Regions from separate parts of the Homo sapiens genome. Here regions 2, 3, 4 and 5 are each linked to region 1. Evidence: promoter capture Hi-C in 16 types of primary human blood cells and fetal thymus (Javierre and others, 2016). All regions are on one chromosome and are shown on one strand. Each heading gives the region's core, a stretch centred on a gene start or on the middle of the fragment in contact. The rest is flanking DNA. Distances are from core to core; before and after follow the strand shown.

Region 1 (5,187 bases), core at 1,638-4,137:
TGCCTCGCTTACAGAAATACTCAGAGTTCAGAGAAGAAAAGAACTGCAAAGGTTAGTGACTAAGATCTAAACCAACATGCTGTTTTTCTTAAGACTTCACTTTTCAGTTAGCTTTTTAGTACTATTACTCAGCTACTTCTCAACTAGGTTATACTGCTCGCAAGCTTAAAAGATCAATTCTAAACACGTAAAAAAATCTGGCCAAAGTCACAAGTCATATTCCCTCTACTTTCAGATATACTTACATCTTATTTAGGGAAAAAAAAGGTTTTGGGGGCATTATGAAAAGAATAAAATTTAGGCCGGGCACGGTGGCTCATGACTATAACCCCAGCACCTGGGGAGGACGAGGTGCGAGGACTGCTTGAAACCAGGAGTTTGAGAACAGCCTGGGCAACACAGTGAGACTCTCATTTCTATTTTAAATTATTAAATTTAATTTTTTTAAATAAAAAATTGTAAAACAGAATTTATTACCAACATCATTTAACTTAGATATCTACATATCCTCAATGGATCATCTTCAACTGTTTCTCTGCCAATTTAACACCCACGAGAAAAAAAGAAATTTAAGTATACTTTGCAGTTAGCCTATTCCCAAGGCATTAAAATGCACTGCTTTATTAATTTCAGCAAAAAATGAAATATAAGAAAACCTGGTTTTCAAGTGCCACATAACAAGAGGAACTATTAAGAAACAATGATCTCATTTTAGATGTATCATTACTTACCAGGCAAAGTACTTATTACAATTTTAAAGATCAAAATTAACAAAAGCTGTTTATGAATAGAGGCAGTTATGGGCAAACCAGAACTTAAATTAGCAAGCCTTAGATGATCTTAAAATTCTAATGTTTCTAATCCATGCAAATTCCAACTTTTCCTGTTTCCTCAGAGAAATAAAGCCACACATATCCCTGCAGAGATAAGCAGAATTTTAAAATTTAGAAAGAAAATATTTAACAAAAAGTTCCTTTCTTACAGCAAACTATTTTAATCAGTTTCTGACCAACTGCTGCCTCGAATAAATTAAAGAACTATATTAACTAGTATGAAAAAGTATGGTTCTTATATAAATACCTGGCATTAAAAGAATGACAAGGTTTTCACCTACAATACAAGGTTTTCACCTGCAATAACATTTCAAGAGCATTTCAGGGGTCCTTAATGACATTTAGTGTTTTTTTTGTTGTTTTTTTTTTAAAGACAGCATAAAAGGAAAGAATGCACAGATTAAGAAAAGGACGAGATATTTTCAGGAGCTTCATTTTAATAACTTACTTTAAAAGATCTGTAAATTCTAACACCAGAGCTGTCCAACTGTTCATGCCCTCGACTCCACCACTCACAGCATTTATAGTCCAACAATATTTTAGGACTGTATAAAGGCAAAAAGCAGTTGAAACTGCCAAGTTCCCATTATGAAGTGTCCAAGTTAGGGGATATGACTGAATTCTTACAAAGTCTTGGATAAGATGTTAGCATCCGTTGACATGCCCTTGAATCTGAAAGCAGCTCATTTCAGCTTCCGTCTTTAAAAGCTGAACCTCGCCCCTCTCCCACATCAACATGAATCAATTGCCAGGCACCTCACAAGTCTTAGATGAGCCGAAATTTAAAGCTTTCTATTAACCTTTACTTAACCACTGGCCACCTTCCTTCCTACATAAGGTGACAGTGTTGTCTGTAGAGGGTTCTAGCTCCCGGCTATGTGGATTTGAAATCCAACTGTCACTAACTGTGTGACCTTGGTTAAGTGACTTCATCTCAGTTTCTTCTGTAAAATAACAAAAACAAAAAAAATTGCAAATATCTTGCAATGGGTGGGAGAATTAAATGAAATCTGTCTTAAGTGCTCAAAGAATGCCTGACACACAGTAAGCGCTTTAGAAGCGTCAGTTATGATTACAGTAATAATTCATGGACGCAAAGTGCTTAAGACAGAGCCTGGCACATTGGAAAGATAATGATAGCGTCAGCCTCGTTGGCTTCCTCTTCAGATGCACGCTCAGGAAAAGAGCGCGGAGACCTCTCCAAGATTAGAACAACTTAAAAGGATTTGGAGGGCAGGCGAAGACAGGTTCTCACACCTCTTGAGACATGAACGCTTGTTACCAAGTAACAAGAAATGGGCCCCCCAAGACCCCAGAACCACGAAAAATAAAAATAAAAGCAAGCAGGAAAAGAGCCCCCAAACCCGGCGGAACTCATGCCCTCATCAAACTGCCTTCCGAGAGGACGAGCACCGAAAAGTCCATCTCGCACAGCACGGCACACGTCGTCCAGGAGGCTGGACTGGGATCCCCAACCATCGCTCCAAAGACCCGTCCAGTGCGCGGGGGCAAACGGGTAGGGGCGGGAAACGTGGGGGTGGGGAGCGGAGTTTTCAAATTCCACGGCCGGGAGGAAGCCTGCATCCTCGTGCAATGAATGAGCGGAGCCTGGAGGGTCCGCAGCTGGCGACAAGTTGGGAATCCCGGGCTGGCCTCCCTCCGGCTGCAGTCCCCGGCCCGTGGGCCAACTCGAGGAGCTCACTCCCCACGGTGCTGCAAGCCCAACCGGCCTCCCAACTCCCCTCCCTCGAGCCCCCGGGGCCGCCTGCCGCCCTCAGGCCCGCCTCCCCCTTCAGCCGCCCGCCGCCCCCCTTACCTTCCAGCAGCCGTTGGATAATGCTGTCGATGTTGAGTTTATCTAAATCCGCCATCGCCTTCCCACCGCCGACCCTCCCGCAGCGGCGCCGCCGCCGGCTCGCGCCCGGGACTCACACCTCCTTTCCCACGCCACGAGCAGAGGCGGTGGTGGCGGCGGTGGCAGCAGCCGCGGCGGGTCCCCCCCCTGCCACCCCGCTCCCTACTTCCTCCTTCTCTCCCCACTGGAACCACGAGAAGAACAAAATGGCCGCCGACTCCTTAGACAGCCTCGGGCGGCGCACGGATGCGCGCGGGGAGTGCAGCGGCCCGGCCGGGACTTCTTTATGGGCCATAGGGGGCGCGGGAGGGGGCGGGGCCCGGGCGCTGGAGGGGGCGGGGCCCGGGCGCTGGGCGGGGCGCAGATGGCTGAGCGCAACCGCGTCCCCGCATGGGATCCTTCCGCCAAACGGGCCGAGTAAATAGGCCCGCCCCCAATGCCGGGCCCGAGCGAGAGTTGCAAAGTTGCACGCGGGAGTTGGGGCTGGGGGAGGAAATGCAGCTGTGCACACCGCCGGTTGCGGCCATCGCCGGATCTTGTGCATTGAGTCTAGATGTTTGCAGACCTGGACAGGTGGGAGCTCACCGAGGGATTTCGGGGGTCCTGGAACTTACCCTTTAAGATAAATCTGGGGTGAGGATGGAAAAGAATAATAAAGAAAAGAAGGTTGACTTATTTTGGATTCAGATATACTGGAACTTGGGACAAGAGAAAGGTTTATTTGGTAACTAAAAAGAAAAAACCCTCTTTCAGATAAGTCAAAATGTAACAGTTAACTCATTGTGAGTGGTGGGTATATGGGTATTTGTATATATATTTTTTGTGCACTTCTGTAACTTTAGGGGTAAAAAATCCATACTCAAAGAAAATTTTATCATTTCTGTCCCTTGGATTTATCTTCCCTGAACTCGGAAAGTTATGTAATCATCGGGACGGTTATCCCGATTCTAGCCAGGGCAAAGTTGAACGAGCGCGTGCAGCAGTTAAAAGGGGAATTTGCAGATTTCACGCGTGCAGGCCGGGGGCGGGAAGAGAAGATGCAAGCTGCGCGGGCGGTCCTGGGTTCTGCAGACACCCGAAGAAACTTTGGCCCATTCCTCTCTGGCTTCCCAGCCTCCCCGAGGGCACTCCTATCCAAGGGGCCCCCAAACTGTGCCACCTCCAGGGGCTGCGCGTCGACTTTGGCTGGGTTTGGAAGTACAGCCCACACTCAGCAAACAGATCGGCTCTCTTTCCTGACCTTTCCATGTACGTTGCTTCCTGCAGCGCTTTACATTTTGCAAAGCCCCCTCTCTCCGAGAAATTCATTTTGTTTCCCAAGGCGTGCAGGATGCACGAATCCCCATCTCAGTATGCCACGAGGTAATTGCACCACCCAGGCATCCTCTTCCAAAGCAATGTCCTCAGGGTGCGGGCTCCATGTCCCCTTACTTGGGCCCCCTCGCTACTGGTGCAGGGCCCTTGAGTTTCAGAACTCAGCCTATCGATCCACTTTCCTCAGGCACTAACTCACTTTCCCCTGCTACAGCTCTGTCCACCAGAAGTCACATAAGTGCCATTTGTCAGGCCAAGGCAATGAGCCCAGTTGGTGACATTCGGAGTTGGTGCCCAGCGCTGCTGTGAACATCTGGCTATGGAGGTCAGGGGGGGCTCTTGCTGGAGTCCACAGGACTTTGGGCTACTCCAGGGCAGGGTGCATCATCGGAATGGCATTTAGGGTAGAAATATGAAAGACAGCAATTCATTCAGCAGACAAATATTTATGGAGTACCCACTCTGTGCCAGGCATTGTTCTAGACAGGGAAGCAGGGGTGATCAAGACAGACAAGGCTTTTTTCTATGGAGAGTCATTTAGTCAGTCAGATGGTAAGCAAAGATGCAAATAAAAATATCAGCTTCTGATAAGTGCAGTGGAGAAAAATAAACAAGAAAAAAAATGCTACTGTGTTCATTTCTTAGTATGTGCCAAAAAATGATCTCATTGAATCCCCAAGATAATCCTAGGAATTATGTCCTATTCCTATCATCCCCATTTACAGATGAAGAAAGTGAGGCACAGAGAGGCTAGGGTGGTTGCTGAAGGTCACACAGCCAGGAAGTTACAGAGTCAGGGCTGGAACTCAGGACAGCCTGAAACCACAGCCCTCGTTCATATTCAGTAAAACCCGGCAGTGAACCCCCAGCAGTGTTCACATCCCTGGCACATACTGGGCACATATCAATTTGGAACCCAGTGGAATGACTGAATTGTGTCTCTGCCCACAATACGAGTGCCATAATTTTCCTCATGCAAAATGGCAGGTGTGTTAACCTCTTGCAACATCATCAGGGCTGGAGGAGGACTTCAGACTGAGCTGGGACATGGGGAGAGCCTCTGTCCCCAGGTTGTTTTCTGCTGGGCAACTCCCCTCCAGAGTTCAGTTCTGCTGGCACATGCCTAAGTGATTAGCTGGCTCTGAGCCTGAGCATGGCATAGCTCACCAGGGTGGGCCCTCACAG
Region 2 (5,187 bases), core at 1,506-4,005, 940 kb after region 1:
ATGCTGATGGATAATCGCTACTTTCTCTCCTGGTGACTTGCCTTCTAAACAGGCTACAGCTGAGGCTAGTGTCGTCTTTTTTATCTCCTCATCAGACATTTCCCCGGCTAAAGAACACATGAATGATTAATACAAGGTAATAAAACAAGCTCCTCTCTGTTCTCTATTCCTCTATCATTAGGTTTTCCTTTTCTTTCTCCTGCCTTCCGCCAAGATGATAAGAAGCCTTTGTAGTATCCATCTCACTCAACTCTGGGACCACTGCAGTACACAGCAAAGAGTCAATAAGCAGCCAGGACAATATACTCAGAAATGCAGGGCTGTTCTACTGAAATCATGCACTTTATTTTTATTTTTTGAGACAGAGTCTCACTCTGTCACCCAGGCTGGAGTGCAGTGGTGTGATCTTGGCTCACTGCAACCTCCACCTCCCAGGTTCAAGTGATTCTCCTGCCCCAGCCTCCCGAGTAGCTGGGATTACAGGCACGTGCCACCACGCCCAGCTAATTTTTGTACTTTCAGTAGAGATGGGGCTTCACCATGTTGGACAGGCTGGTCTCGAACTCCTGGCCTCAAAGTGATCCACCCGCCTTGACCTCCCAAAGCGCTGGAATTACAGGTTTGAGCCACTGCGCCTGGCCCAAAATCATGCACTTTAAAGCAAATCGCCAAAGAGGGAGCCTTAGAGAAGATGCAACAGTGATCATGCCCAGATGAGCTAACATTTTAGTAACACCTGATAAAATGAAATTGTGTTCAGCCCAAAATGAAGCTATCAAGTCCATTAAAAAAACAAAATTTCAAAAACTTGTAGGGGTAGTCTTAAACATCCTGGCTTATGCTCATGCCATGAACCAAGCCATGAACATCTGTGATTACTGTCTTAAATCAATGAAACACATGAAAAGGGAAACGGAATTTGGAGACTTAACTGAAATATCCCTAATACATGCTCTGTCAGGGCAGGGACAAGGCCTGTTTTGCCCACCACTGTATTCCCAGCCCTTATACCACAGTGCCGAGCACACAGAGGAAGCCCTCTAAATGTTTGATGAATAAATGACTACATGACTGACCCATGCAGATGTCTATATGCGGCTAATATCAATTTAGCTGACTCTCAGAACTCAGAAGCCACTTTTAGCCTTTGGAAAGGTGCTCATAAGCTATAAAGTCATATTCAATCTTTAATTTGCAGCTTCAAAGGTCACGTCCTCAGGAAGTTCCCAATGACACCATCCCTACCTGCCCCCATCCCTCTCTCCAAACCAAACACATCTTCTTGTAATACTTTCCCAAATTGTTTCTCCTTTCCTTCACAGCACTTACCACAGTTGTAATTCTACACATATTCTGCACTTATTTAATTCATCTGTTTCCTCCATGATACTGCTGGTGCCATTAAAACAGAGACGCTGTCTGATTCAGCACACAAGGAAGGCTCCAGCAGATATGAGCATAAGTTTTTTTTTTGTTTTTTTTTTTGAAATGGACTTTATCTCTTGTCGCCCAGGCTGGAGTGCAGTGCCACAATCTTGGCTCACCGCAACCTCCACCTCCCGGGTTCAAGCGATTCTCCTGCCTCAGCCTCCCCAGTAGCTGGGATTACAGGCACCTGTCACCACGCCCAGCTAATTTTTGTATTTTTAGTACAGACAGGGTTTCACCATGTTGGCCAGGCTGGTCTTGAACTCTCAACCTCAGGTGACCCGCCCGCCTCGGCCTCCCAAAGTGTGAGGATTACAGGCGTGAGCCACCGCGCCCGGCCAAGTATTTCTTGAATGAATGTTAGTTAATTATCTGAGGACCAAGGAACAGAGCCAGAGCTGCATTCCCCACTAAGGAGCTTCCTCACTTGTGTTAATGGTGTAAAAAGCTCAGACTCAAGTCCAGCTCACTGAGTTAGAATCCCAGTTTCACCCATTACAGATAACCTTGGGCAAATCAATTAATCACTAAGCTTCAGTTTCCCAATGTGTAAGAGGTACATGTCACATCCATCTGCCTCTTAGGGCTGTTGCAAAGATAATTAAAGAATACAATACACAAAAGGTGCTTAGTACAGTGCTGGGATATAGGAAGTGTCCAAATTTTAGTTATGACTATGGTTAGGGGGCACTTCAATGGATATCGTTCCAAAAGGGAACAATTTAATTAACCCAGGGACCGTCCAGCGTTGCTGGGGACCCAGTCCCTGCCTTTACGAAGCCCATAGGGAAGCAAGTGAGACAAACACACCACTCGACTATCTCGAGAGGGAGACGCGCCAGGTATAAACTAAATGCCCTCAGACGGCACAGGGAGGGAGGTTCGGGGCAGGGCTTCCCTGAGATAACAAACGGGAAGGCCTCTCAAAGGCGGATGGGAAAGAGAGGGATCCCGATTACCTCTCCGTGTCTTCCTGGGCAACAGCCCTCGCCGCGGGCTTTTCCCGGGCCAGTGCTTTGGGAAGGGAAGCCCTCCGGGCCCAGACCCGGCTACAGGGAATGCGGCGAGGCCGCGGGACTCACCCGCGGCGCTGAAGCCGAAGCCGGCGGGGACAGGCGAGTGTTCCGCGAGCTCCAATCGGATAACAACCAGTGACACACTCATAGGGCAGGCGCTGGCCGGCGCGGGCCCCGGCGGGCTCAGGCGAGGCTGGAAGGCGAGCCGAGAGGCCGAGCGGCCCGGGGCCGGCAGCGCCGCCACCACCTCAATGCAGTTGCCGCCGCCTCAGCAGCAGCAGCTCCTCGAACAGCCCTCGGAGCCACAACAACCTCCACTTCCGCCTCCCGGCCGCCGTCGCTGACCTGCGGTTTACGCATGCGCGCAGGACCGCGCACAGCGATTGGGCGGCGTGGCAGGGGTCACCCACTGCTCTTCCGGACGCAATTTTGAGGAGGTCGGAGCGGAAGGACGTCGTGGAGATTGCTTGCGCTGGGGTGCCACACTTAGGCTGAGCTGCAGGTTTTCGCACAGTCGCGAGTTAACCTCTGCTTGCTCCAGAGGCCTCGTCCTAATCCACCTCGGCTGACGGCGCGGGATCCCTGGCTCCGCGAGGTCTCCGAATTGTCCGAGCTATCTGCTATGCAGAACTTTGCCCCTTTTGTTGTGTTTGACTCCTGTCTCTAACCCTAGTCTGGATGGTTTTGTTTCTGTCCCACTTTACAGATAGGTACAACGAGGCTCAGAGAGGTGAAGTTCCTTCTAAGGGGCCGTAGAGAGTGGAGAGTCGATCGCTGTTCAGATAGCGATCTGGCTGGGCGCGGTGGCTCACGCCTGTAATCCCAGCCCAGAGGCTTAGGCGGGCGAATCACCTCAGGTCAGCAGTTCGAGACCAACCTGGCCAACATGGTGAAACCTCGTCTCTACTGAACATACAAAAAATTAGCCGGGCTTGGTGGCGCGCGTCTGTAGTCCAAGCTACTTGGGAGGCTGAGACAGGAGAATCGCTTGAACCCGGGAGGCGGAGGTTGCAGTGAGTCGAGATAGTGCTAGTGCACTCCCGCCTGGGCAACAAGAGCGAAACTCCGTCTCAAAAAAAAGAGAGAAAAGATGGTGATCTGCTGGTTACGAGCATAGTGCTGCAGTTAGACCGGGGTCCTCCTCCCCACCCTGTCACTTCACAAATGTTTACTGAGAGTCTAGACACCCTTGGGATGCTTGAGATACGTTGGCGTATAAGATAAACACAGTTCCTGTCCGTACTATGAGGTTGACCTACATCAGCAGTTGTGCAGTCTTGAACTAGTATAGTCATTGCATAAAGTTGGCATGATATCATGTCCTCATGCAGTTGTGAGGATGAAATGGAATTATGTATATGGAGATAACATTAGCTTTTCTGAGGCTCAGCATTCTTTCCAGTATGTCAGAGTGGCTTTTGTATGTAGATACTGACACAATCAATGCATATGGGACACATACATGACAGGATGCTACTCTAGGTACATTGTATAATGATACATATGTAAGTACATAGTACATTCTAGATGTGTGTGTGTGTGGACATAGTGCGTTCTAGATGTGTGTGTATCTGGACTATGACATGACCACAAGATACATGCGTATATAGATCTTGTGACTACATCCTATGAAATACGTTTCCATATGCCCTGTTTAAATCAGGGTTTCTCAACTCTGCACTATTAACATTTTGGGTCCTGATTATTCTTTTTTGTTTTTGGCAAGGGGGCGGGGTGTCCTGAGCATTGTAGAGTGTTTAGAAACATCCCTGGCCTGACCCACTAGATGTCAGTAGCACCTCTCCCCAGGTGGTGACAACCAATAATGTCTCTGGACCTTTCCAGATGTCTCCTTGGGGTTAGAAAACATAACCCTGTTGAAGAATCACAGGGTTATGTGAAAGTGCATAAACCATACACACATACTGTATGCATAAAACCTATGAGACCTCTTGTGAACTTTTTTAGTATATTACTATAGTAGATAACATTTCAACATGTGCCAGGTACTAATTTGAGTGTTTCATATACCTTGTGTCATGCAATGGTCACAACAACTTTATGAAACTGGTACTATGTCCCTGTTCTACAGAGGAGTAACCTGAGGCTTGGAGGAAGAGTAACTGGCTCAGGATTTCACAGGTAGTAGTGGCAGAGCTGGAACTGAAATTCAGGCAATCTGAATCCAGAACGAACATTCTTTATCTCTTTACCAAACAAACCTTTTTTTTTTTTTGTATTTTGAGACGGAGTCTCACTCTGTCGCCCAGGCTGGAGTGCAGTGGTGCCATCTCGGCTCACTGCAACCTCGGCTTCCTGGGTTCAAGCTTCCTGCCTCAGTCTCCCAAGTAGCTGGGACTACAGGCACACAGCACTGCACCCAGCTGATTTTTGTATTTTTTTTTAGAGATAGGGTTTCACCATGTTGGTCAGACTTGTCTCGAACTCCTGACCTTGTGATCCGCCCACTTCGGCCTCCCAAAGTGCTGGGATGACAGGCGTGAGCCACCGCGCCCGGCCCCCCCAAAGGCATTTTTCGTCTCTACTAAGCCCTCACACAAAATATACAAGTGTGTAAGTAAATTTCTCTTTCTATCATAAACATTGGCCTTGGCATAGGAACGTTAAGTAAAACTGAAAATGCAAATGAACCTTGACATTTTTAGTTTCAAATATTGCCCCCAAATTCAGCAAATTTCCAATTACTGTCGTTGCATGGTGGTATCCTCAGCAGATGGGTGCA
Region 3 (5,187 bases), core at 1,908-4,407, 860 kb before region 1:
GCAGAATTAAATACTTTTTAAAAACACAGCTTTTGGCTCTGAGTCATATTTATATCTAGAGCTATGGTTCTCAGAGGTGATTTTGCCTCCCTGGGGATAGTTTAGGTTGTCACAATCTGGGGAGGGGGTGCTACTGGCGTCTGGTAGGTAGAGGCCGGGAATGCTGCTAAACATCTTACAATGCACAGGACAGCCCCACCACCACAAAGAATGAGCCAGCCCCAAATGTTGGCAAGTGCCATGGTGGAAAATCCCTGACTTGGAGGAAACTGTAGCTGCAAGGCGTTTCACACTCCTGGTGTCCCTCACCCCAGAGCAGCTCCATTCAAGAGACACACACACCACCCAGATCATCCCGGTGACCAGACGCTCCCAAGATCTAGAAAAAGCCCCTGCATCACAGCCGACAAATGATCTTGATCAGACGTCCCAGAGAAAAGTCACTCGTGGAAGAATCCTCCTAAAGCTTAAGTCTTCAACCTTCAGGAGCAATTCTCCTCCCCCCACAGAAGAGAATAATGGTTCAAACGAACTATCACTTTTTTTTTCTTTAGAGTCCTAAGAATCAGCCTCTTTGGTGAACAGTAAACAGCTCTGGTGGGCAGAGGGCCCTGTGGTGGTTAACCCATTGTGGACCAACCCCACTGCGGCTTCTGTATAAATGGTACTTCTGTCAACAGATGTGACACCCCACAGCACAGGGATTGCAACAAAGACAAGGGTCCTTTGAGACCAAGGAAAGGGAGGAGGAGATGCTCTTTAGCCCTGGCACCAGATGACTGCTGGCTCTGGCTTGCCACCTCCCTCTTTCCTCCAAAACCAGCCAGATAATTGCATCAAATGATGATACCCCCAAATACAGAACGGATGTGCAACCTCGCTGAAAATAAGGAAAGAAAAAGCCACAGAGTTTAACCTGGGATTTCTCCACCTTTGACACTGCTCATGTTTGGGGCTGGATCATTCTTTGTTGTGGCAGGACTGTTCTGTGCACTGTAGGATACTGAGCAGCTCCCTGGCCTCTACTCACAAGACACCCCGTGCCCCATCCCCCAACTCAGTTGCAACAAAAATGCCTCCAGGCATTGTCAGATGTACCCTAAGGGGCAAAACTGCCCTCAGTTGAGAACCACTGGCTTAAATGGATTCTGAATCCCTGTCCAGGGCAAGCTGGCTCTGACTTGGAACTATTCCTGCAACCAAAGAGGAAACAAGCAAGCAAAAAAAAAACAACAACAACCAACAACATCACAAAATTAAACAACTTTTCAATGCTAGAGCTGGTTCGCTCCCAAGCCCCCACCTGGAGAGTCAGTATTATCTCAAGACTGTGACACTGATAATAAGAAAGTTTTGTGCATTCAGCAGTATTGACTGAGCATCTGCTATGTGCCAGGCACTGTTCTGGGCACTGAGGACACAGAGTGGATGTAAAAAACCAAGCCCTTGCTCTCAGGTTGCTTACCCAGGTCTGGGAATCATACACACCAGACAATTGCACTCCCTCAAACACCGATTAATCACTCTAGCAAGGAACCAAAACTGGATTCAGGAACTTAAAACCACACCCCCTACAGCGAAGACCTATTTGGCACTTACGGCCTCGGTACTTTACACACACCACCTCATCGACTCCTCACAGCTGCCCTAGGAGATCAGCATCCCCGTTTCACAGCTGGGGACACTGAGGCTCACGAGGTGAAGGAGGGGAACTATAGCCTCCAGGTAACCACAACCATCCCAGAGCTCAGGACACTGTGGGAACTACCACCCCTAACAAGCCTTCTTTGCCCACTAAGTCGGACTGTCTTAAGATCTCCTGTCTTTGGGTTTCAGGTGGACTCTGCCCTGGGGGCTGGTATTTTCCTGCAAGGCCACCAAGTGAACCAGCAGGACAGGACAGAGCCCACATGGAGAAGGAGAATAGAGGCTCAGGTTGCACCCTTTACCCGGGACCCAAAAGGCAAAGGGCAGGGGCAGTGGTGCTGGCTTCTAGTTCCCATTTTCCATCTGGGGCCTTGGCTGGACTGGGCTAGGCTGAGGGAGTGCGGGAAGAGGGTCTGAAAGTGGACCGCCTTCCCAATGCGCCCAGGAACTTCCACACGACATACAGGGGAGGGGCTTCCTCTCGTAGAGCCCAAACTGAGGGAGGAATTGGTGCCAAGCTCTGTATGTCTGATGTCACCTCACAAAACAGCTCCCCCGACAACCCTCACCCCTGTCCTAAAAGGAGGAAAAACTTTAGGTGGTTTCCCCTAGAAAGAGGCCCTGGAATTTTGCAACTCCATCTTCAAAACCCTCTCCTTGTCCCCGCCTCACCAGGCTTCCTACCCTTGGAGGGGGAGATGGGAGTCTTTGATCTGGAATGGGCGAATTCTGAGGGAAGAAGGAAGGGTTTGTAGGTCCCATGAGGGAGAGGCTGGAAGCGTTCAAAGAGAAGGCTTATGAAATGGGGGGATTCATTGTAAGGGGAGCGAGTTGAGAGCCATCAGAAAGCGCCAGGGATGAAGGACTTTGGGGAAGAAGGGGCAGGAGGCTTTGGGGGAGATGGTGGATTACAGAATGCCTAAGGGAGATGGAAGATCATCCGTGTTGGGGGCACGGATGATCAGGGGGCATTTGGGGGATATGTAGGACTGTGAGGTGTCTAGGGAGAGGGAGGATTTGGGGAGGACAGGCAGGATGTGACATGTTTAGAGCGGAGAGGACTTGGGAGTGGTCCGGGAAAGGGAGAATTTAGGGTGAGTGGAGGGAAAGAGGATCTTGGGTGCCTGGGGAAACAGTACTTAGGGGTGTCTAGGGCAGAGATGGTTAGGGGATGCTCGGGGGAAGGAGGATTCGGGTGCGCGTGGGGCTGCGGGCCGCCTCCCCCCTCCATTCCGGCTCACCGAAGAAGGGCGGCAGGTGGGACACCGCCTCGAGGAAGGGCCCGGTCTCGATCTGCTTGTCCGCGGGCAGCGGCTTCAGCAAGTGTTCGGCCAGCAGCGCCATTTCGGGGTCGAGGCCCGCGGTGATGCCCCAGCCGGCGCCGCGGGCGTCGACACCGCCCCCCCGGCCGCCGCCGTCAGCGCCGGGGCCGTCACAGCCGCCCGCCGCAGGCTCCGGGGACGCCAGCGTCGCCACTTCCGCCCGCACGGCGCCCTCGTAGCCGAGCGCTCAGCGCCGCCCGCCGGCCGAGCGCCTAAACTGCCGGGCGCGCCGCCCCGCCCCCGCTCACCGGCTCCCAATCCGCGCCCGCCGCCGAGGTCTCCGCGCCCCCATTGGCCGGGGGGCCGGCCGGGGGCGGGACGCAGAGGAGGTGCGCCGGTTCATGGGTCCCGGAGGGCCCAAGTGAGCCGCTCCCAGGTGAGTCTTCCCCAGGTGTGCCTCCCGCCGCCCCCGGTTTGGCCCCCCAATCCGGGCGGGCCGACTCGGGCCAGGTCACAGCTCACAACCCGCCCACCAGCTCGGGTTACAGCCCCACCCAGCCAACGCTCCCCAGGACCCCCGTTTCCCCCAAAATTGTACCCCAGTAACCCCAAGTGACCTGGGTGGACACTGCTCTCCTGTTGGTCACGGTTCTCTTTCGCTACAACCGACGAGGACGCTCGATTGCTTGATTCTTGGTCTTCAATGACCTTATACCTGTTGAACACTGCTGAAGTCACAGTCTAACTCAGCCACTGCCCTGCTGGACAACTCCTGCTTCCCGAAATCTGGGGTCCAGTCTGCCCTCAACAGTCTGATGTTACCTGTTGTGAGGCAGAAAAATAGGGCCTGGAGGCAGGGAACATAAGGCTGACTTCCTAGACCTAAATCAAAAAGCACCTTAGCAATGACAGGAATGTAAACGGCTTTGCAACTTCACTTCATCCTCTCCATTCACGCCCTTTACACTTTGTAACTTCACATTCATCCTCTCCATTTACACAGACCACACACTCCAAGAAACATCCTCTCCATTTATACTTTGTAACTTCACATTCATCCTCTCCCACCAAGTAACATCCTCTCCATTTGCACATCCTCTCCATTTGCAATAGGGCACATTCTGAGTAAATGACTCTGTGACTTCACTTCATTCTCTTCATTTACATAGAATATTCACCAAGTAACCAATGGGAAACCTCTAGAGTATTGAGACCCTAGAAAATTCTGTAAGCAGAGCTCTTGAGCCTCTACGCTCAAGCCTGCTCCCAAACTGTGGGGTGGACTTTTCGTTCTCAGTAAATCCTTGCTTTTGCTTTCCTTGCTTCGTTTGTGTGTTTTCTCCAAGATGCCAAGTACCTGGACACCTTCTACTGGTAACAGCTGGAGCCAGCCCAGTTTATACCAATTCACCCACAACCTGGACACTTGTTTCCCAAACCTAATGTCTCTCCAACAGCCCAGGGTCCAGCTTCTCACACCTTGAATCACAAGTCATCTCAGCCACAACCCACCTAGATGCTTATGTCCTAAACCCAATGCCCAGCTTATGCAAAAATCTAACACACCATTGTTGAGAGCCTCTTATTCATTCCAGAATAAACATTTGCCATCCTTCCCACCCCTCCCCCACCCTCCACCACTATGTGTCATGCACTGCACTGGGCACTGAGGATAAAGTGAATGATACAGCAAAATCCCTGCCCTTGTGGAGCTGACAATCTGGTTGGGAACACAACACAATGCAATACACAAATTGGTAAGACAACTTCAGACACTGATGAGTATGTGAAGAAAATAAAACAGTGTAGTGACGGAGGATGACTGAAGCCTGTTGGCTGAGATCGGATGTAGGGGTTTGGGAGCAGTACCTCTGAAGAGGTGATATTTGAGCTGAGACCTAGAGGAGAAGTAGGATAGAGCCAGGTCAAAGACTTGGGGTGTGAGTCTGGCCAACATGGTGAAACCCCATCTCTACTAACAAATACAAAAGTTAGCTGGGTGTGGTGGCAGGAGCCTGTAATCCCAGCTACTCAGGAGGCTGAGGCAGGGAGAATTGCTTGAACCAGGGAGGTGGAGGTTGCAGTGAGCCAAGACCGTGCCATTGCACTCCAGCCAGAGCGAGCGAGACTCCGTCTAAAAAAAAAAAAAAAAAAAGACTTGGGGTGTGAGGCACATGAGCAAAAGCCTTAAGGTAACAAAGAGCTTAGTGTGGTGCAAGGAATCGGGGGGCCAGGGGAGGAAATGGGAATGGGTAAGTGAGGGCAAGAGTGAGTAGGG
Region 4 (5,187 bases), core at 1,847-4,346, 630 kb after region 1:
CTAAGCCGCAGGGATTCACGCATTCCCCACACCACCACCCATCAACTCCCATGTGGATGCTGGCCCCGGTTCTCACAGGACCCTCCCGCCCTGCTTGCCCAGTTCCGCTCCTACCTCTCAGGCCACCACTTGCCTCCCTGCCCTCTGCTCAGCTCCAGCCTCAGCTCGCTCTTCTCTGGATTCAAATGTCAGCTCTGCAGCATCTGGGCTGGGGGACCCCAGGCAGGCTATTCATCTCTCTGGGCCTCTGTTTCTGCATCTGTAAAATGGGATCGTAACAGTGCCTAAGTCAGGGCTGTTGTGACAATGATACAGTGACTATATGGACTTTGCGGAGCATGGGGCCAGGCACACAGTGCCTGCTGAGCGCGGTTGCAGTTCACATTTTTCTTGGCTTTTCCCCAAACATCCCTGTGTTGTGCTTCCGATCTCAGCAAATGGCCCTTGGTTTCCCTCTCACCCCCGCATCTGATCGCACATCAAGTCCAGTTGATCCCCCTCTCCAGCGTCTTCCAAATCAGTTGCCTAATCTGTCCACTCCACCTCCCCATTCTAGGCCCCATCACCATTCACTGGGATGGCTGCTGTAGCCTCCTCATAAGTCTCCTTGCCCCTCCCTGTCCATGTTCCTCAAGGTAAGATCCAAGCCTCCTTCCTAAGCTCTTCTCCGAGCCACACTGAAATCCACTTCCCACAGATGGATCCTGTGAAAATTAAGTCCAATCACACTCCTCCTCTGCTCTAAACCCTCCCATGGCTCCCTACTTCTCTCAGCATAAAATTAAATCCTTAGGCAGGGTGCGGTGGCTCACACCTGTAATGCTGGCACTTTGGGAGGCTGAGGGGGTAGGATTGCTTGAGTTAGAGACCAGCCTGGACAACATAGCAAGACCCTATCTCTATAAAAAATAGAAAAAAAAATAGCTGGGCATGGTGATACAAGCCTCTAGTCCTAGCTATCTGGGAGGCTAACATGGAAGGACCCCTTGAACTTGGGGGGTGACATAGTGAGATTCTGTCTCAAAAAAAAAAAAAAAAAAATCCAAGCCTCCCTTGGCTTCCAAGTTCCCTTTCCCTACCTCTTTCCCCCTTGTTCACTCAGCTCCAGCCATCCTGGCCTCCTTTCTGTTCCTCAAATACACCAGACACATCCCCACCTCCAAGACTTGGTCCCGGCTGTCTGCCTGCAGGTCTTCACAAGGCCAGCTCCCCATCCTTTGGTCTCAGCCTAGCTGTCACCTCCTCAGAGAGGTGGTCCCTGGCCACCCTATGCACAAGAGGCCCCCCAGTCCCTCTCCTGTGCCTCCACCTGAAATTAATACCTGGGTCATTTCTGCCTGCAGGGGCGTTTGTGGTCTGAATTCTAGTGCCTGGCATGCAGTAGGTACTCACACAGCTGTTTGATTCATTCTGCAGTATCTTCTGAAACCTTTCAACAGCCCCAAGACAAGGGATCTCACCCCACATTCACAGATGTGGAAATGGACACAGGGAGATTCAATAAGTTGGCTAGAGGCATACAACTGTGCCCAGAATCACATGCTCCAGGCAAGCCACCCAAATAAAGGGGCTGATCTTGGGGTCTCTCCACCCCATCAAGGCCAAAGGAATAGCAACTTCCCTCCTGCTCAGCAACCCTCCTCCCCCGACTGCCTAGATAGAGGCCAAACTGGTTCAAGGTCACCAGCAGGCACAGGACCCAGCTCTGCCCATGACCCCTGCCTCCACCAGAACTGGGAAGACAGGAAGCTGCAGGGGCACAGGCGCCAGCCTTGCCTGGAGCGAAGGCCTGGCCCCTGCCTTATCTCCCCACACTGTTTTCCAAGAAGTTCAGAGTCCACTGTGGGCACTGCTGCTGATTCAACAGCCCATGGCCAGACAGGAAGCTGGAGGGAGCCTGGCCCAGCTCTGCTCCCAAGGCAAAGTTCCTGCCTCCGCAGGTCCAGGCTGGAGGACCTTGGACAAGTCGTTTCACCTTTCCAAGTCTCAGTGTCCTCATCTGTTAAATTGGGCTGTGTGGCGAGGGTTCATGAGCTAAAAGAAGGAAAACCCACTGGCAAACTATGGGAAATGGATTGCAAATATTAGCTGCTGTGAGTCGGAGTTTTTTCTCAGCCTCATCTGCAAAATGGTGACGTTAACTTCCATCCCTCTAAGGGCTGAGTGAATTGACTCCTGAAGAGTCATTTTGCAAAATACTTGGTGGGTAGTGAGCTTTCAGGGAAAGAGCTGTCAAAAAGGCAAATAATTCATCCAAGATCTCCAGGGGCACAGCTGGCCCCGGAACCCAGGTCTCCTGGGAGACTGAAGCATGGCATTTTGGCACTCACATCAACGAAAAGAAGCCAGTACCGCAGGTCCTGGGGTTGAATCCAGCTGCCCTCAGTGTCCCCCAGCAGCGGGCGTGGGGAAGAGGGTGTGGCAGGCACAGGCTGAAAAACATGTGTGCCAAGAACACTAAAGAGCAGCCTGGCCGTCACCGCCCCAGCAGGGACCCCAGAGACACGCCAGCACCGCCGTCCAGACACAGGCAGCCCCCTTGTCCACGGCAGGGGCTGCTGCTCCAGGTGTGGCCCTGCTCCCGGCTGCTCTCTGTCCCTTTGTGTGTTGTGCGTGGGAGCTCTCTTAAGTTCCTTAAAGGACAGCCAGAGCCCCAGATGGGTGATCAGCGGCAGAATGGGGGGCTTATCCGCAGTCCCCACCAGCGGCAGACGTCCCTATGGGCTGAGAGAGGGGAGGGTGGTCATTGGCCAAGTTCGCCTCGGCAGCTGGAGAAGTCACCACTGGTGCGGAGTCCCAGCGGGGAAGATCCCCGCAACGCGCTCTCCAGGTGGCCGGGGGACCCCGAGGCCCAGGGCGGCCCGACCCGGGTCCCATGTCCTCGTGCATGTCCCCCCGCCAGGCCCGCCTTACCTCGCAGCGCAGGCCTAGGGCGGCGACGGGACGGGAGGCGCGAGGTTGCGGGGTGGCCCGGCCATGGTTCGGGACTGGCCCGGTGGCGGCGACGGCGGCGGCAGCGCTTTGTCTCCTGGGCGGCCGGGCCGGCGCAGCCGCGGGAGAGCGCGGATCCGACGGAAGGAGGCGGGAGCAACCGGACAGTCCGCGACCCACGGGCGCGCCCCTTTAACCCTTCCCAGCCTGCTCGCGCCGGGCCCGCCCCCGCGTTCTTCCCACCTCCCGATTGGCAGGCCCCGAACCGGCACGCCCCCGTGAGCCCGCCCTCGAAATCACTCTTAAAGGGTCCGCTCCTGGCTCGCGACTCCCCAGTTCCCTAGCCCAGAAAAGCGGATTGGAGCCCGGGAAGCTCATTGCGATTCCAAAGGTAAGGACTGGCCCAGGTCGTGGATTAGCCTGCAAAAGCATTTGGGGGTCCTGGGCGGGCCATTCGCTGAAGTCCTAGGCTTAAGTCCGAACTCCCCCCAGGACGAGGCAGGAGGATTGCCTGAGCCTAGTAGTTCAAGACCAGCCTGGGCAGCAGAGGGAGACCACCATCTCTACAAATAATAAAAATATTTGCTAAACCTGGGTTGCCAGGTTTAGCAAATTTAATGCCCAGTTAAATTAGAAAAATAGCTCTAATTCCTGAAAAATGTGTGAGTGGCAGAAAAAACAGCTGAATCCAGGACATTTGCGTACAGCACTGTTCCATACGGACAGGGCGCCTCGCAAGCTTCCCCTGGCTCCAGGTGAAGAGAGGAAGTTCTGGAATTAGGCAGACTTGAGTTCGAGTCGCACTAGGCCACTGAACACTGTGTGAGCTTAGAGAAATCATTTCACTTCTCTAAGCCTCCGTTTCCTCATCCGGAAAATAAAGACCATCATGATATGTAAAGTGCACGGCACAACAGAAAGCTCTCAAGAAATAGGAATTGCTGTTGTTTTTGCCCTGCCCACCTCCTTGAACCCTTCCTTCCTGTTCCTGCCGCCTCTTCTCCACCACCCGCCACCTCCCAATCACTATTAAGTCCTGGCCTGAAAGCAGGAAGAACAGGACAGACCAGGGTCAGCTCTCCATTGTACAGCCTCTCACTAAGCGCCTACTGTGTGCCAGGCACTGTACCTGAACCAGGTAAGCAGGTGCAGCCAGGAATCAAGACAACACAAATGAGTTCTGGAAGTGATTCATGCTAGGACTGTACGCTAAGGCAATGGGGCAGAAAGCCTGGGAGTGCAGTTTTTTTGTTTTTGTTTTTTGTTTTTTGTGTTTTTTTGTCACCCAGGTTGGGGTGCAGTGGCACAATCACAGCTCATTGTAACCTGAACTCCTGGGTTCAACCGAGCCTCCCACCTCAGCCTCCCAAGTAGTTGGGACTACAGGTGTGTACCACCACACCCGGCTAATTTTTTTTAATTTTTTGTAGAGATCGGGGGGGTCTTGCTATCTTGCCCAAGCTGGAAGTGCAGCTTTTAGACAAGGTGGTCAGGGAAGGCCTCTCTGAGGACAGACCTGGAGGAATGAGGGAGGGAGCCATGTGGTTATCTGGGAGAAGGAGGTCCCAGGCAGAGGGAACAGCAAGTGCAAAAGCCCTGAAATGGGGCCATCCTGGGCATGTTTGAAGAACAACGAGGAGACCAGTGGAGCCAAGTGAGCAATGGGAAGAATAGTAGGAAAATAGGTCAGCTGGCTGGGCGCAGTGGCTCACGCCTATAATCCCAGCACTTTGGGAGGCCGAGGCAGGTAGATCACTTGAGGTCAGGAGTTCGAGACCAGCCTAGCCAACATGGTGAAACCCGGTCTCTACTAAAAATACAAAAAAAAAAAAAAAAAAAAATTAGCCAGGCATGGTGGTGTACACCTGTAATCCCAGTTACTTGGGAGGCTGAGACAGGAGAATCACTTGAACCCAGGAGGCAGAGGTTGCAATGAGCTGAGATTGCACCACTGCACTCCAGCCTGGGTGACAGAGCAAGACTCTGTCAAACAAAAAAAAAACAAAAACAAAAAAAAAAACACAATAGATCAGAGATTATTGGCAAAGCCAGAAAGCCAGGTGACCTAGGGGCTTAAGGACCAGAGGAAAGATTTTGCTTTTACTCTAAGAAGAATGAGGAGCCATGGGAGGGTTTTGAGCAGAGGAGGGACATGGTCTGTGTTAGATTTAACATGGTCCCTGACTGCTATGGGCAGGGAATGATAGTAGAAGCCAGGCGATCAGGGAGAACACTACTGCAGTAGTCCAAGCAAGT
Region 5 (5,187 bases), core at 1,697-4,196, 620 kb before region 1:
ACATAAATTTTTCAATATACAGATTCCAGGAAGCATGCTGACTGGCTTCAAGTTCTTCCCCGTGTTCCAGAGCAACCATATTAAGCATAAAATCTATTCAAGTTTGAGTCCAAAGAGTGGATCCTCTTGCTTATTTGAATTTATACAGGATTGCAGTCTCATAACTGAAAGGTATAGTGTTTGTAGACCAGGGGCAACAGAGAGAGGAGGAACTAAAAGCTATTAGATAAACCACTCCTATCTAGGATTTCTATAGCCTATACCCATAAACCCTATAGAAGGTGCAAATCTAACCATCTTTTTTTTTTCTTTTTTCTTTTCTTTACTTTTTCTTTTTTCTTTTCTTTTCTTTTTTTTTTTTTTTTTGAGACAGAGTCTCACTCTGTTGCCCAGGCTGGAGTGCAATGGCGTGATCTTCGCTCACTGCAACCTCTGCCTCCCAAGTTCAAGTGATTCTCCTGCCTCAGCCTCCCACGTAGCTGGGATTACAGGCATGCACCACCGCACCCAGTTAATTTTTGTATTTTTGATAGAGATGAGGTTTCACCTTGTTGGCCAGGCTGGTCTTGAACTCCTGACCTCAAGTGATCGGCCCATCTCAGCCTCCCAAAGTGCTGGGATTACAGGCATGAGCCATTGTGTCTGGCAAACCATCTTATTTTTAAAGTTTTATTCAAAAAATTCTTTTACTTCTTTTTTTTTTCTTTTTTCTTTTCTTTTTTTAAAGATGGGGTCTCACTGTTGCTCAGGCTGGACTTGAACTCCTGGGCTAAGACTGTCCTCCCACCTCAGCCTCCCAAAGTGCTGAGATTACAGGCATGAGCCACCATGTACATGCCTCATTTTTTTAAAAAGAAAAAACATAAATGTCTTCAGTGCCTCCCAATGTTGGGCACTGTTGTAATCACTTTACCTGTATCAACTCCCTTAATCCTCATGTCAACCCTATTGAGGAAGGTTTTATTATAGCCACGTTTTACAGATGAGGAAAGTTTAGCAAGATAAAGAGAGGGTACACAATGGCAGATGCAGAATTCAAACCCAGGTAGCCAGGGATGTCTCCTAACACACCCAACAGGATCAATGAATTATATAATCCCTTCTACAAATCTTGTATTGTTTCTGTCAGTATTATGTAAGTTATTTAATTCTTTGAGGTTTTGAGTGTTGCTTCCCCTAATTGGTTGTGGGGTGGGGCCAGTTTTAGTTTCTCTCCAGGAGCCCTGCAGGGTACCTACGCTTGATATTTCAACAGTCAGAGGGCAGCCAACAAAGGGACTGGTCTTGGAATGTTGTGTTGCCTCTGCCCAAAACACTCTCCCTTTTCCTGTTTGGCTAATTTTTACTGATCCTTTTTAAGAGATGGGGGTCTCCTTCTGTTGCCCAGCCTGGAGTGCAATGGTGCCACCCCTGACCAATTTTTGCTTTTAATTTTTTGTAGAGAAAGGGTCTTGCTCTGTTACCCAGGCTGATCCTGAACTCCTGGGCTCAAAGTTATCTTGTTGCCTTGGTCTCTCAAAGTGCTGAGATTACAGGCGTGAGCCACGGTGCCAGGCCTAATTTTTACTGATCCTTAAACATCACTCCATTTGACAGAAACTTTCCTGATGGTATGGCCCCTTTGGCACCACCCTCCCCAAATAAACTTGAGGCCCTTAATCTGGGCTCCTAATCATTGGCTTCTCTTGTTACAGCATTTATCTCAATTGTATTGGTGTTGCCCCTTTAATAATCTCTGCCGGCACTAGACTGTCAGCTCCATCAGGGCAGGGGCCAGGTAAGTCCTGCCCTTCTGCATTTCCAGCAGCCTGTACAGTACAGGGCATATAGGAAATGCCTAATACGTAATCTGTTATTTTTTGTTGTGGTAAGTCTGATGCTAAAGCTATAGTTGGTTTCTCCTATGCTGTTTGAGCAGGCAACTAAGTTTTCAAGGTATCAATAATTTGATTTTTTTTCCTTCTCTTTCTTTCATTGCCAGCTGATATCACTAAGTATCGTGGTCTCTAGTCTAATAGAGGTTGGTTCAAAATACCATTTGCCAACTAAGGTCTCCCACAAACCAGCTAGTGCAAATTCCAGTAGACTTTTAAACCTCATCAGTGACTGGGCACAAAGATCTCCCTGCGTCCTGCGTGGGATGTGAACTCCATGAAGACCACAAGGAGGATTTAATTTATTTCTGCAGTCACCTAAAGAGAGCCCACTCAGAAGCCAAAGGAACATTAGGACACTTAGTTCTCCCACACCCCCTTTCAGGCTCTCAGCATACTCAAAACGTATTGGGTTTAAAAAAATTTAATTCCCAGTACAGGCAATGTGGCCCAGTAATGTGACACAGAAGCTGAAATCTCTATGATGAATGTGTCTTCTTTTAATCCTGCCAGAGCCTCACTACAATTGTTCCTATGCATAACCTAATTTGGAGATACTTATGTCAAAAACCTAAATTTGAAGCACTGGCCAAATGCTTGCTCATCCCAACCCCCCTACCACCCAGCCCTGCCTCAAAAACAAACAAAAATCATCACCCACGTTTGGCGCATGAATGCATGCATGCATGCATGAATGAATGAATGAATGAAACATCACACGCATTTAACATAGGTTAATCATGCAGAGAGTATTTTGTAAACTGCGAAGTGCAGGACTTTCGGGAAGCTTATTGTAGCGCGTCTAGGTCGGAGTAACAGTCCCAAATGCCCTCGGCTGTCTGCAGTGGCTCAGCACGTGGGCCCGCTTTGCAAGTAAGCCCGGCTCCCGTCCGCCCCGTCCGCCCCGCCCCGTCCCGCCCCGTCCCGTCCGCTCCGCCCCGCCCCGCCCCGTCCGCTCCGCCCCGCGCCCGTCCTCCCCGCCCTGGCCCGGCCCCGCCCCCCAGCTCGTGCGCGCGCGCGCGGGAGAGCGGCCGCTCGCCCGGAAGTGACGTAACTCTACGGCCTAGCAACCGTTGCCAAGGAGCTCGACTCTGGGAGCGGTCTAGAGCCCGGGCGCCTCCTGGGGGGTGGGGAAACGGTTTCGTGAGGAGAATTTGAGGTAACCTCGCCAACTCGCGGTCGGAAGCTCCTCTGAACCCCGAAATAGGAGAGAGCTCCCGTCCTCTCTCGGTCCTGATGCAGCACCTCGCAAGTGGAAGGGGTCGTCGCGGTTAAGCCCCCGGATAGGGGAATCGGGCCCCTTCTGGGATTCGAGCGGATCCAGGCCGCTCCCTGGAGGGATGAACTGTCGAGGGGCCCAGGGCAGCCCCCGCTAGAGGCCCGGTCGGGTGTGGGGTCCCCTGTCCCCTGTCCCGAGCCCGGGGAGGGGGACACTATTTCTGGTACTCCCAGGAGGCTGCGGGTCGATGCTCGTGCCAGCCTGGGACCCAGGCAGCACGGTTTCTCTCCCAAATTGTGCCAGAGAACACGCACGTCCTGGTTTTCATTGTTCCCCGCCTCCTGCGACTCGTTTGTGGGTGAGTGCTTGGGAATTAGCGCGGCGACTTCGCGCTAGAAGAGGGACAGTAATTGCTTTTGCTAATTTTAGAGCGCAGAGCCCGCTGGGCACAGACAGCCTTCCTGTTCAGTACATCTTTGTCCTTATCGAGTGACCATTTTTGCAGGCTGGTGGGCGACTTGGGGGGAACCCAACTGGTTTATTTTGCCTTCCTGGAAACGTTGTACTAGTTTATCCAGATTTTTTTTTAAGGGAAAAAAGAGTAGACCTATAGATAATTTCTAAATCATTTAAAATGAAATACATATTTCTGCACGCAAAGGTTATGACGTGGACTTTTACTTAAAATACTTTAAACAATGGAAAACTTGCACTTCCAATATGGATTTTAAAAAAAAACTTACGTAAAGGTTTTCCTTTTATAGCTTAAAGGAAACCTCAGATTTATTATAAGCCATGGTGGTTATCCTTCCTATCCTCTTTTGACTTATTTCTTAGCAATAATAATTATTTGTGCGTAATTTTTCATCATTGTGGAGAAATTATCTTTTTTATTTTATTTTTTCTGTTGAGACGGAGTCTCTCTCTGTCCCCCAGGCTGGAGTGCAGTGGCGCGATCTCGGCTCACTGCAACCTCCGCCTCCCGGGTTCAAGCAATTCTCCTGCCTCAGCCTCCCAAGTAGCTGGGACTACCGGCGCCCGCCACCACACCTGGCTAATTTTTGTATTTTTAGTAGAGACCGGGTTTCACCATGTTGGCCAGGCTGGCCTCGAACTCCTGACCTCAAGTGATCTGCCTGCCTCGGCCTCCCAAAGTACTGGGATTACAGGAGAGAACGACAGCTCCCGGCAGCAACTCATTGCTTAATTCATTTTTAATCCTTAAAGCATTTACCTAGGTAAAGCTGTTTCAGCAGTTAATAAATCAGATATTCAGTTTTTTAAAAAGTTATGATCTTTCTCACTGCCAGCCTGATTTCCTTTAGATTTAGGCTTATGTTGTACTTGTGCCTGTGAACAAGTTCATTCAATCTAGTGGAAGGAATCACTGTTTTAGACACAATGGATGTTCAAAAATGGAATTGGACACAGATACGGAATTTACAGTTTAGCAGGGAAGAGAAGATGCGTACCTAAAGAACTAGCACAAGATCGGCCAGGCGCGGTGGCTCACGCCTGTAATTCCAGCACTTTGGGAGGCCAAGGTGGGCGGATCACGAGGTCAGGAGATCCAGACCATCCTGGCTAACACGGTGAAACCCCGTCTCTACTAAAAATACAAAAAATTAGCCAGGCGTGCTGGCAGGCGCCTGTAGTCCCAGCTACTTGGGAGGCTGAGGGAGGAGAATGGCTTGAACCTGGGAGGCGGAGCTTGCAGTGAGCCAAGATCGCGCCACTGCACTCCAGCCTGGGCGACAGAGCGAGACTCCGTCTCAAAAAAAAAAAAAAAAAAAGCACAAGATCAAAAGTAGTGCTAGGAGAGAAGCACAGATAAAGTGTGGTCAGCTATGAAGGACAGGTGTTGGCACTGCTGCAGAACCTGGAGGATAGCTTGAGAAAGGTTTCCTGGGGGAGCTGGCGTTTGGTGGGCATGGCTTGAAAGATGGTTGGGGGGGTTTGTGCCTCTTGAGATGAAGGAGGGGTGCGCAGTCATTTTAGGCAGAGAAAGCAACATTAACTAAAGGCAGAGTGATAGAAAAACTAAGGAGCAGTGACTGTTTCAATAGGCTGAAGTTTGAAGGGGTAGAAAGATGA

What was found. Contacts are between HindIII fragments. The CHiCAGO score rates a contact against its expected background, and 5 or more counts as called.
Region 2: the fragment with the promoter of BRAP here is called in contact with the fragment with the promoter of PPP1CC in region 1 in 1 of 17 cell types (fetal thymus); the score reaches 5.7 in fetal thymus.
Region 3: the fragment with the promoter of GLTP here is called in contact with the fragment with the promoter of PPP1CC in region 1 in 3 of 17 cell types (non-activated CD4 T cells, neutrophils and fetal thymus); the score reaches 7.2 in non-activated CD4 T cells.
Region 4: a contact is called between the fragment with the promoter of PHETA1 here and the fragment with the promoter of PPP1CC in region 1, in 14 of 17 cell types (endothelial precursors, total B cells, erythroblasts and 11 more). The highest score is 10.7, in endothelial precursors.
Region 5: the fragment with the promoter of IFT81 here is called in contact with the fragment with the promoter of PPP1CC in region 1 in 2 of 17 cell types (fetal thymus and naive B cells); the score reaches 9.0 in fetal thymus.

Annotation. Positions count from the first base shown.
Region 1 is chr12:110,740,004-110,745,190 of GRCh38, forward strand. It overlaps PPP1CC (protein phosphatase 1 catalytic subunit gamma), which reads right to left and starts at 2,888. Exons shown (of 7, transcript NM_002710.4): 1 at 2,650-2,888. The coding sequence starts at 2,704. RefSeq lists enhancers at 2,613-3,121, 3,883-4,467 and silencers at 2,759-2,818, 2,979-3,118. The HindIII fragment of the contact is 5,862 bases long and covers 1,620-5,187 here.
Region 2 is chr12:111,683,201-111,688,387 of GRCh38, forward strand. It overlaps BRAP (BRCA1 associated protein), which reads right to left and starts at 2,756. Exons shown (of 12, transcript NM_006768.5): 1 at 2,511-2,756; 2 at 1-107. The coding sequence starts at 2,592. It overlaps ACAD10 (acyl-CoA dehydrogenase family member 10), which reads left to right and starts at 2,853. Exons shown (of 21, transcript NM_025247.6): 1 at 2,853-3,039. RefSeq lists enhancers at 1,079-1,780, 1,781-2,482, 2,483-3,184 and a silencer at 2,529-2,628. The HindIII fragment of the contact is 2,811 bases long and covers 1,959-4,769 here.
Region 3 is chr12:109,877,384-109,882,570 of GRCh38, forward strand. GLTP (glycolipid transfer protein) reads right to left here and starts at 3,158. Exons shown (of 5, transcript NM_016433.4): 1 at 2,889-3,158. The coding sequence starts at 2,991. It overlaps LOC124903012 (a long non-coding RNA gene), which reads right to left and starts at 4,018. Exons shown (of 3, transcript XR_007063455.1): 1 at 3,978-4,018; 2 at 3,732-3,791; 3 at 3,515-3,624. It also overlaps a transcript of TCHP not described here. RefSeq lists a silencer at 2,866-3,415 and an enhancer at 3,740-4,241. The HindIII fragment of the contact is 8,722 bases long and covers 465-5,187 here.
Region 4 is chr12:111,365,999-111,371,185 of GRCh38, forward strand. It overlaps PHETA1 (PH domain containing endocytic trafficking adaptor 1), which reads right to left and starts at 3,097. Exons shown (of 3, transcript NM_144671.6): 1 at 2,914-3,097; 2 at 115-259. It overlaps LINC02356 (long intergenic non-protein coding RNA 2356), which reads left to right and starts at 3,263. Exons shown (of 4, transcript NR_187522.1): 1 at 3,263-3,322. RefSeq lists a silencer at 2,688-3,267. The HindIII fragment of the contact is 8,438 bases long and covers 1-3,668 here.
Region 5 is chr12:110,121,411-110,126,597 of GRCh38, forward strand. It overlaps IFT81 (intraflagellar transport 81), which reads left to right and starts at 2,947. Exons shown (of 19, transcript NM_014055.4): 1 at 2,947-3,451. RefSeq lists a silencer at 2,761-3,030. The HindIII fragment of the contact is 3,777 bases long and covers 2,660-5,187 here.